Regions from separate parts of the Homo sapiens genome. Here regions 2 and 3 are each linked to region 1. Evidence: promoter capture Hi-C in 16 types of primary human blood cells and fetal thymus (Javierre and others, 2016). All regions are on one chromosome and are shown on one strand. Each heading gives the region's core, a stretch centred on a gene start or on the middle of the fragment in contact. The rest is flanking DNA. Distances are from core to core; before and after follow the strand shown.

Evidence for each region. Contacts are between HindIII fragments. The CHiCAGO score rates a contact against its expected background, and 5 or more counts as called.
Region 2: a fragment that was not itself captured here is called in contact with the fragment with the promoter of ADI1 in region 1 in 4 of 17 cell types (non-activated CD4 T cells, naive B cells, monocytes and 1 more); the score reaches 10.7 in non-activated CD4 T cells.
Region 3: the fragment with the promoter of RRM2 here is called in contact with the fragment with the promoter of ADI1 in region 1 in 1 of 17 cell types (monocytes); the score reaches 5.5 in monocytes.

What each region holds. Positions count from the first base shown.
Region 1 is chr2:3,518,213-3,521,168 of GRCh38, forward strand. ADI1 (acireductone dioxygenase 1) reads right to left here and starts at 1,319. Exons shown (of 4, transcript NM_018269.4): 1 at 1,156-1,319. The coding sequence starts at 1,275. It overlaps LOC124907725 (a long non-coding RNA gene), which reads left to right and starts at 1,334. Exons shown (of 2, transcript XR_007086195.1): 1 at 1,334-1,744. RefSeq lists silencers at 226-425, 906-965, 1,046-1,365, 1,436-1,565 and enhancers at 985-1,506, 1,507-2,027. The HindIII fragment of the contact is 6,500 bases long and covers 1-1,900 here.
Region 2 is chr2:9,423,753-9,427,054 of GRCh38, forward strand. It overlaps CPSF3 (cleavage and polyadenylation specific factor 3), which reads left to right. Exons shown (of 18, transcript NM_016207.4): 1 at 1-71. The coding sequence starts at 22. Among named protein-coding and RNA genes, the nearest start is that of CPSF3, 1.8 kb to the left of the region's middle. RefSeq lists enhancers at 1-48, 89-138. The HindIII fragment of the contact is 1,985 bases long and covers 430-2,414 here.
Region 3 is chr2:10,120,991-10,124,273 of GRCh38, forward strand. It overlaps RRM2 (ribonucleotide reductase regulatory subunit M2), which reads left to right and starts at 1,749. Exons shown (of 10, transcript NM_001034.4): 1 at 1,749-1,907; 2 at 1,993-2,067; 3 at 2,397-2,540; 4 at 2,746-2,862. The coding sequence starts at 1,809. RefSeq lists enhancers at 1-422, 471-1,026, 784-853, 874-983 and silencers at 1,204-1,803, 1,210-1,710. The HindIII fragment of the contact is 3,317 bases long and covers 381-3,283 here.

The sequences.
Region 1 (2,956 bases), core at 69-2,568:
GTATGCCAATTGTCACTTCCCTCTTCTGTTATTTAGGATAGAACAAGATGATATCCAAATAGATTATGCTGGAATATTCTATAATCCTTTCCCAAGGGAAAAAGTGTGGTGTCCAGGTAACCCTGTGTATTTCATTTAAATCACATGAATGAAGATTAGATCCAGTCACCCCTCAGCCTATCCCTGAGGCCTACCCTGGCCCTCTCTTTTGCAGTAAACCTTTGTTACTGCAAAACCATTTGCAAATAAACAAGGTGAGCGGATCTGGACTGGTGCTGTGCAAGCAACGGGACACCGGTGCAAAGCCTAGCCCCGCCTTGCAAAGCTAGCGTTACAGAGGCAGGGCTGACACCGGGCCCAGCCGGGACCCAAGCCAGCTCCACCGCCCACTGGAGACGCCCCCACCCCACCACCGAGCGCTACCCCCCGGGGATCCCCGACAGACCGCGGCAGGACCCCGCCTCGATCTGCTGGCGCCCGGTCCCTCCCCCAGGACACTTTCAAGCGGAGTCCCCCTTCCTCCGATAGAAGAAACCCCTGGGCCTTTGACCGAGGTTAGCCAGGCAGGCAGGGCGTCGGACAAGCCCAACGAGCCCACGAACTCGCAGCCCGCCTCCGGCGAATCTTGCAGCCCTGCCGGCCGACCCTTCAGGTCGCTGCCAATCCCGGAGCTGCGCGTGCGCAGCGAGTCCCGGCTGCGAGGCCCCTGACTCGCCAACTCTGCTGCTGAGCATGCGCAGCACACCCCAGGCAACAGAAACGGACCGCCGACCCCCACCAGCCCCGCTGCTGAGCATGCGCAGCCCACCCCAGGCGCCGGAAGCCGACCGCCAACCCCGTAAACTTCGCTGCTGAGCATGCGCAGCACACCACAGGCGCTGGGGGCTGACCGCCGACCCCTCAACGCCGCTGCTGAGCATGCGCAGCACACCCAGGCGCCGCGCAGGAGGCCCTGACCACCCAGCCCCACTGCTGAGCATGCGCAGCCCACCCCAGGCACCGGGAGCCGCCACGAACCCCCAAATCCCGCTGCTGAGCATGCGCAGCATGCCGCGGCTCCCAGGCCGCTGCCCGGCACCTGGAGGAGGCTGGGCTGTGCGCGGCGTTTGGGGGTCGGCGTCGCCCGCACGCTCTGCGAGGCTTGGGCTCGCGTACCTTCCAGTAGAGCACCCCGAGCCGCCGCAGCTGCTCCAGGCCCACTGGGCGGCCGGGGTCGGGGCGGTGGGGTTGCCGCGGGTCGCCCGGGGCGTCGTCCATATACCAGGCCTGCACCATGACGCGCAGTGCGGGTGCCGTGTTCGAACCCAGGGGCCGCGCTCGGAGCCCGTCGGCCGCGCTTTATCTTATAGGGAGGCGTGGACGCGCATGGGAGCCGGGATTGGGCGGCTGGTTGGAGGCAGGGCCGGCGCGGGGGAGGCCCCACGGCTCCGCTGTTTTCGGAAGCAAAGGCATTCAAGCCCCGACCCTGTCCTGGGCACCCTCGGACCTGCCTGAGGCCCGCGGCCCGGGGCCAGCCGTTCGCCAGACGCGCCGGGCAGGTGAAGCTCACCGTAGGCATCGCACGTGCCTTGTGTGTGCTGCCGCGGTCTCCCTGCACCTTCAGAGCAATCTTGTGAGGCAAACGACGTTAAACGTGTTTAGAGTATGGAAAGCAAATGCAAAAAAAAAAAAAAAAGAATAAGGATTTTGTTAAGCTCATGCAGTCCATATGGGCACAGTTGAGACTTCACAGCTCGGATCCCAGGTGAGACATTGTCCTCCACCTCCCCGCTCGCCAGACTTTTGCAGTGTCGGCATTCTGCAGTGCTACCCTGTACTTTTTAAACTTCCTCTTGTTTCCTCTTTTCATCGTTTCTCCCTTCCCCATACACTGTAATGTGCTAGTCTTAGAATAAAAACAAGCTTCCCCTATCCCATTCTGAATTTTTCAATGTAGCTAATAAAGTCCAGCCGCTTGACCATCCTAGATGTCTTTTCAAACCAACGAGTTGAAAAAGATCAGATTATCTCAGCCATTCCCTCAGTCTCTTTAACAAATAACGATAAAGCAGACAGGATTTAAATGAGACTGCTGTAAGAGCACAACCCCAATGCATGCAATTGACTCTTGAACTTCCAGAAATATTGCAAGAAAAATACACACTTATTTCATTTCTGTTCCCTTGCTCTAATGGCTTTGCAAATACATCCTCCTTAGAGAGCCTACCTCTCCACCTCTTCACTTGACCAGTTACTACTCATCCTTCAAGAACACACCTTAGACGCCATTGCCCATTTTTCTGCAGCACTCATGACAAACCTTCATGCAAGAATCTAATGGCAATCTCGCACCTCGCATTTTCTCCTTAAGCCACTGCAATAAGGCTTCGCTTCTCACCACTGGGGAACTGCTAATGACTGCCATATTGCCAGATCCAATCATGGCACTTCTGTTCTTACCAGCAACATTCGTCACAGTTGCCCACGCCCTTCTTGAAACATTTTCTCATTTTCCTTCATGAGGGCATCTTGGCTGCTCCTTCCCAGGCCCCTCCTAGCTCCTGCTCCTCTAACCACTGGTTAGTGGAGCGTTCCAGACTCTCCTCGTCCTGTTCCTATCCACTCACTCCAGGCGACTTTCCATGCTGTGCTGCCGGCTCCTGCAGCCACATCTCCAACCTGGACCTCATTCCAGAACCTCAGGCTTGAGTATCCAGTTGGTGTTGTCACATACATGGCTAATCAGTGTGTCAAACCTAACATGGCCAAAACAACTGATTCCCCACACACACCCCCAAACATGCTTCTCCCTAACCTTTCCCGTCTCAGTGAACGGCAGCACTGACTGCCCAGTGGCTTAATAAAAAAATCTAGGTGTACTCTCAGTTTTGCTTTTCCTCACCCTCAAGATCCAATCCAATCTATCAGCAAGTCATGTTGCTTTGACCTTCGAAACACACCGCAAATCCATTCACTT
Region 2 (3,302 bases), core at 172-2,671, 5.9 Mb after region 1:
CTTCGCCCTCACACTTTCGGGATGTCTGCGATTCCTGCTGAGGAGAGCGACCAGCTGCTGATCCGACCCCTGTAAGGGACCAGCGAGAGAGGGAATGAAGCCACGGGCTGTGAGGGGCGCGAGGGGTAACCGGAGACTGGCCTCCTCCGTCGCCCGCGCTCCCACCTACCCCGGCAGCCTGCCTTTGGTCCGCGCTTGCGGGCCAGGCTTCTCAGGCTCGAGGGGTTGGAGGACCGTTGATCGGAAGGGGCCTGCTATAGAGTGAACGGGATTTTGCTTTTTCATCAGTTTCAGGGGAGGGTATGTTGGAGTCGGAAAAAAAAAAGTTTTACGGGGCCACCGCTCGCTTTCGTACACGCTAAGAAGCGTTTTCACTTAGCACAAGCACGGATCTCTGCGCGTCAGGGCAAGCTGTGAGGGAGCCGGTGAAGCTTATGACCGACAGGATGAGAGGAGGACCTGAATGAGGCTACAGCCGTGCAGGGAAGAATTAAGTCTGTTTCTTAACACCAGGGCTTCACATGTGCCAGAAGTTAGAAAATATTAGGGACTTGCCGTGAGTTTCGATCTTCTCAGCTCAGGCCCTAGTAGAATAAGGAAGGTGTAAAGCTGGAGAAGAGAAAGTGCAGAGGTGTTAGGGACAAAAACTCAGCCCTCGACTGTCCATAAGGAGAGTGGCCTTTCAGTGGACACGATCCTCATCAGTCGGGAATGCTGCTGAAGGGGAGATGCAAATGTAGAGAACTTGAATTCCTACAGATGAGCATTTCGAACCCACAACATGTTTATTGTTAGATACTAGTTGGCACAACATGAATATACGCTTTCCAAAAGGTAGAAAGTATCTCCTTTACACAATCATTCAGTAAGGCTTCATTGAGCACCTGCTTGGGACATAGTCCGTTTCCTTCTGCTTAGTTCACACCTGTCATGTCTTCCTGTGATGAGCAAACACTGAGCAAGTGTCAAGCACCACACATGGGGATATAGACGCAACAGAGGGCCCAGTTAATTGCTCTCGCTCTTTTGGAGAGAATTACAGTGCACAGTGGGAAATATTGGAGAGATACTTTGGAATAATAGGAGACTATTACTTTGAAGTCAGACCTGAAGTCCATTATCTACTTGACCAATTAGTAGGACAACAATCTCACTGAACCCGTTTTCTCATATGGAAATAAGATAAAACTTGAAGAGTGAACATCGCGGTAGGTGCTTTGTAAATAATAGCTAATCTAAGAACGCAGGCAGGCATTGCACTGAGCACTGTGAAAGTATGGAAAAGGGATTTCTGACAGATTGAGGAAAAAAGGATACCTCGTGGATCCTGAAAAATGTGATGCCTGAGCTGAGTCCTAAAGAATGAGTAGGAGTTAAAGACTGGGGGGCCCAGGATGTTCTAGGCAGTGGAAGTGGCACATATGAAAGTGAGAGTGGTCACAGCTTGTGGCCAGATTCCTCATGGCTGTAGCTAAAGAGTTGAGTTAGCAGATGAAGCGACAGGCAGTTGAGGTCCAGTTTAGGAAGCACCTCGTATACACAGGAGTTTGGACCTTTATCAAGTCAATTACAGGGAGCCAGCGAAGGCTATTAAGCAAGCATGGATATTGTGGGAATTATGTTTTAGGAAAATCTCTCCTGGCAGCAGTGTAGCAGATGAATAAAAGCATGGATGAATAAAAGCATGGATTGAGTAGAGCAGATTCAGTGAGATATTGAAAGATTCTAAGTCTAGCTGACGAGAGCCTGTAGTGAGTGATGTGAGTGTGAGAGAGTATGCAAATGAGATCTTCAGGATTTTGTGGCTGATCAGCTGTATCTGGAAGGGTGGTTGTGGGGAGGGAAGGCAGGGCAGAGAGGATGTTATGATCAGATTCCTAAGTTTGGCAGTTGGGAAAGGGTAGTGTTATTCACTCAAGGAGTATAAGAGATGGGGCAACTCTGGAGTAAATTTGGGAATTTGGTTGTTTCGTAACAGCTTTATTGAGATACAGTTTACATACCATACAACTCACAATTTACATACCATACAACTCATTTAAAGAGTATAATTCAGTCGTTCTTAACATAGAGTTATACAACCATCACCTCTCTCTAATTCCAGCACATTTTCATCACTCCCAAGAGATACCTTGTATTCATTAGCAGTCATAGACAATCCCCACTACCTCTCCAGCCCTAAGCAACCACTAATCTACTTCTTTATAGATTTGCCTGTTCTGGACATTTCATGTAAGTGTGATCATACAATACATACTCTTTTGTCTCTGGCATCTTTCATTTAGCATAATCTTTCCAAGGTTCAAAATTGAGGAGTTTTGTTCATTCAATAAGTATTTTTTGTGATGTGCTACATGCCAGGTACTGTAGCAATACAGCAGTGAATAAGATGGACAATGCCTCTGTTCTTAGGAAGCTTTCATTTAGTAGCCTGAAAGAAGACATAAGTAGGTACAATAACTTCATGTAGTTGTATTAAGATAACTGATGCTGGGTTGTGGCTTGCTGTGAAGGGCAAATTAGAGGAGGTAGTCAAGGGAAAGCATCTGAGAAGGTGACGTTGGAACTGAGACCCAAATGATACAAAGGAGCCAACCACATCAATATCTGAAGACAAAGCATTTCAGGAAGAAAGTAGAGCAAGTACGGGGCATGTGGTGGAAACTAGTTTGGCATCTTGAATATGAAGTCCCGGGAGAGATCCTAGTAGAGATACCTAGTGTCACGTGTATGTATTAAAGGTCTAGAATTCAGAAGAACAATCTGGGTTACAAATACAGGCTTGGAAGTCCTTAGCATGTCAGAAAGATGAGAATGAAGATTGAGAAGTTGGCCAAGGAGCAAACCCTCGGAATATCAACATTTAAAGGGTAGGCAGAGGTGGCTGAATATGTGAAGGAAACAGGAAAGCCAGCAAGACAAGATGAGAGCATCAGGTCAGAGAAGCCAAGGGAGAGGTGCTTGAGGAAGGAGCAGGTACTCCTTAGGAGTGACAACGGCTGCCAAGAGAACAAGATAGGGACTGACACCTATAGTTCCAGCTACTTGGGAGGCTGAGGCGGGAGGATCACTTGAGCCCAGGAGTTGAAGGCCAGACTGGGCAACATAGGGGGACCTTGTCTCAAAAAAAAAAAAAAGACTGAAATGACTACTGAGCAGCAAGGACAGTTTCAGAAAAGTGATTGGTAAAAGCCAGAGTATAGCGAATTGAGGAGCGAGTAGAAGGTGAGGAAGTACAAGAGGGTCCACTGCCCTGGGAGGTGGTCTGGGGAAAGAATAAAGTGGGAACTAAAGGAGCTTAG
Region 3 (3,283 bases), core at 499-2,998, 6.6 Mb after region 1:
CCAATAAATTATAATTTTGTTAGATAATAGCTTTATCAGCCATAAAGTAATCAATAAAAATACCAGTTTCCTGGAGATGGATGCTTTAGTGTGTTTGGGGTGAAAATGGCGATGAATGGCGAGTTGCTTTAAACAAATCATGGTACACCAAAGTTTTAGTTGTGGCTTTGTGTAAGGAATGTGATGGGCACTTATTCCTGCAACACGAGAATACTATGATTTACAAGTCCGTAGTACTTTTAAGAAATGAGAGAAACAGACCTAGGTGGGGAGGGTACCTGTCCCACCCCACCCTCTTTAAAGTATCTTATCTAGAAAAGGCTTTGTGAAAAAAAAAGTCCCGGGTCTCTCTCAATAACAGCCCTGAGCGCAGCTGTTGAAGCTTTCTCAGGTTAATGATTTCTTTCTTGGATCTTAAAGTTTCTTTCTCTTCCTTTATTTTTGGCATTTTGCCCGTTGCAGGGCCTGGCAAATCAGAAAGCCACATAGAAAATTAAATGAAAGCTATTGCTAAGTTCCAGTCTCTACACCAGTGGAGTTTTCAAACTCCTCTTCAGCATATTTGACGCCCAATGAGTAGTACATTAATTCCTAGTCCTAAAATCATTCTGTGAACTTTCTCCCAGGAATTTTTGCTCAGTTTGCAATTAAAACAACTTTTTTTCTTCTCTTTTTAATGGCAGAGGCGGGGTCTCACTATGTTGCCCAGGATGGTCTCCAGCTCCTGGCCTCAAACAATCCTCCTGCCTTGGCCTCCCAAAGTGCTGGGATTACAGGCGTGAGCCACCGCGCCCAGCCACAGTTTGCAATTCTTAAGGCAAGGGTGACAATAGGGGTCAGGGGTCTGACAGGAGACAGGATTTCTGTGGAAAACTGCACCAAGGGCCTTCTCGCCATGTCCCGTAGTTTGAAGGTTTACAAAGGACTGCACATTTTACATGAGTCATCTCAACGAACGCTCTCCTCACCGCATTAACAGTCCACGCGGTTACGAGTCCCATTTTACTCACGGGGACACCGAATCTGTAAGAAGCCTGGTCGCTTGTCCCAGCAAAACGAGCCACGGGGCTCAGCGGCCCTAACTTTTAGGCTGTAGGGTCCTCGCCGACCACCCCGCCAAAATGTCAGGCCTCGGGGCCCTTGCACCCCCACCGCAGGGACACGGATCGAAAGGGTCGCAGCAACGCCTCCCCCGCACCCAGGAGCGTTTTCCAGGCCTTTGCACCAACCTCGTTGGCTAAGCCCCCTGCCCGGCGGCGGCCCGGCTGGGAGGAGGTGCTTTCGGGAGGCGGGGCCGCGGCCCGGGGATCCTCTCGCGCCCGCGGGCTCCAATCGCTGCTCCTCACGCAATCCTAAACGGTTCCCGGGCGAACCGGGGCCCGCGCGCGCCAAGGCCGCCGAGACCCTCAGGGGCTGCGGCCCTGGTCCCGCGGGACCTGTGGGGGCCTGGGCGGCGGCGCCCCCGACCCAGCCAGCGGACGGGCCGGGGGGGGAACCGGGAGGTCCCGGGGGGCGTCCACGGGGGTGTCCCCGGGGGTCTCCGGAAGGCGCCGGCGGAGGCTCCCGCGCTGCGCTTGAAAATCGCGCGCGGCCCCGCGGCCAGCCTGGGTAGGGGCAAGGCGCAGCCAATGGGAAGGGTCGGAGGCATGGCACAGCCAATGGGAAGGGCCGGGGCACCAAAGCCAATGGGAAGGGCCGGGAGCGCGCGGCGCGGGAGATTTAAAGGCTGCTGGAGTGAGGGGTCGCCCGTGCACCCTGTCCCAGCCGTCCTGTCCTGGCTGCTCGCTCTGCTTCGCTGCGCCTCCACTATGCTCTCCCTCCGTGTCCCGCTCGCGCCCATCACGGACCCGCAGCAGCTGCAGCTCTCGCCGCTGAAGGGGCTCAGCTTGGTCGACAAGGAGAACACGGTGAGCCCGCGGGGAGGGCGCTGCGGGCAGGGGAGGGAGGCAGGGAAAGCGAAGCCGCTCCTCACTCACACGCGTCTCCCCGCAGCCGCCGGCCCTGAGCGGGACCCGCGTCCTGGCCAGCAAGACCGCGAGGAGGATCTTCCAGGAGCCCACGGAGCCGGTGAGTGGCGGGCGTGGGGCAGAGGGGCCAGGGACGGCCTTGGGCGTCTTGGCGCCAAAGCCGCATTGTTTCCTCAGCTGTTCACACTCCCGCCCCGGCTCCTTTCCCGCCTAGGCGGCCCCTCCCCAGGGCTGCCTCCCGCGCCCCTCGGCCCATTTCCCGGTTCGGGCGTGCGCTCCTCTGCTGCGACCCACGGAGTGCGACGGGACAGCCACGTTTTCACATCGGGCCCCGTGAAATTGCCGCCAATGGAAAGGACTTGGTCCAGAAAAACGTTAGTTTCATATGGTTCGCCCGGTACTTAAATGTTTTATTTTCTCCCCCAACAGAAAACTAAAGCAGCTGCCCCCGGCGTGGAGGATGAGCCGCTGCTGAGAGAAAACCCCCGCCGCTTTGTCATCTTCCCCATCGAGTACCATGATATCTGGCAGATGTATAAGAAGGCAGAGGCTTCCTTTTGGACCGCCGAGGAGGTAATCGGAGGACCCCAGAAGACCCCTGCAGGGGTGACCGTCACGCCTCAGACATAAATGCACTTGGAGGTTCCCGTTGGCAAGGGGGGCTAACTGTGGGGCATAGTAAGTGGTGCCAGCATACTTAAAGTTTGAGTGCTCAGTGTGAGTCCTGTAGGCTTTACTCTCTTCCTTTTATGCTAAAATTGTGACTTCCGAACCTCAGGTGGACCTCTCCAAGGACATTCAGCACTGGGAATCCCTGAAACCCGAGGAGAGATATTTTATATCCCATGTTCTGGCTTTCTTTGCAGCAAGCGATGGCATAGTAAATGAAAACTTGGTGAGTTTCCAAAACATCTTTCATTCATTTGACGTTGACGATCTGAGGTCGAACTAGTTCGCTTTCCTCGTCTTGTATGTTTTTCCATGCTGAGTGCATCTGTGTGTGTAAGCTGGGTTTTATATTACATGGCATTTCCTGTTTTGTAACACTTTGCAGTTCTTTCTTATGGTATTTTCCCGACTCTAGAGAAGCTGAGACAATATTAAGTGGTAGCAATGTGATGACTCTTTGTGGCCACCACATCTGCCCCCTCTTTTTTTTTTTTTTTTTGAGACAGAGTCTCACTCTGGCCCAGGCTGGAGTGCAGTGGTGTGATCTTGGCTCACTGCAACCTCCGCCTCCTGGGTTCAAGCGATTCCCCAACCTCAGCCTCATGAGTACCTGGGATTACAGACGTGCGCCACCATGCCTAGCTAAT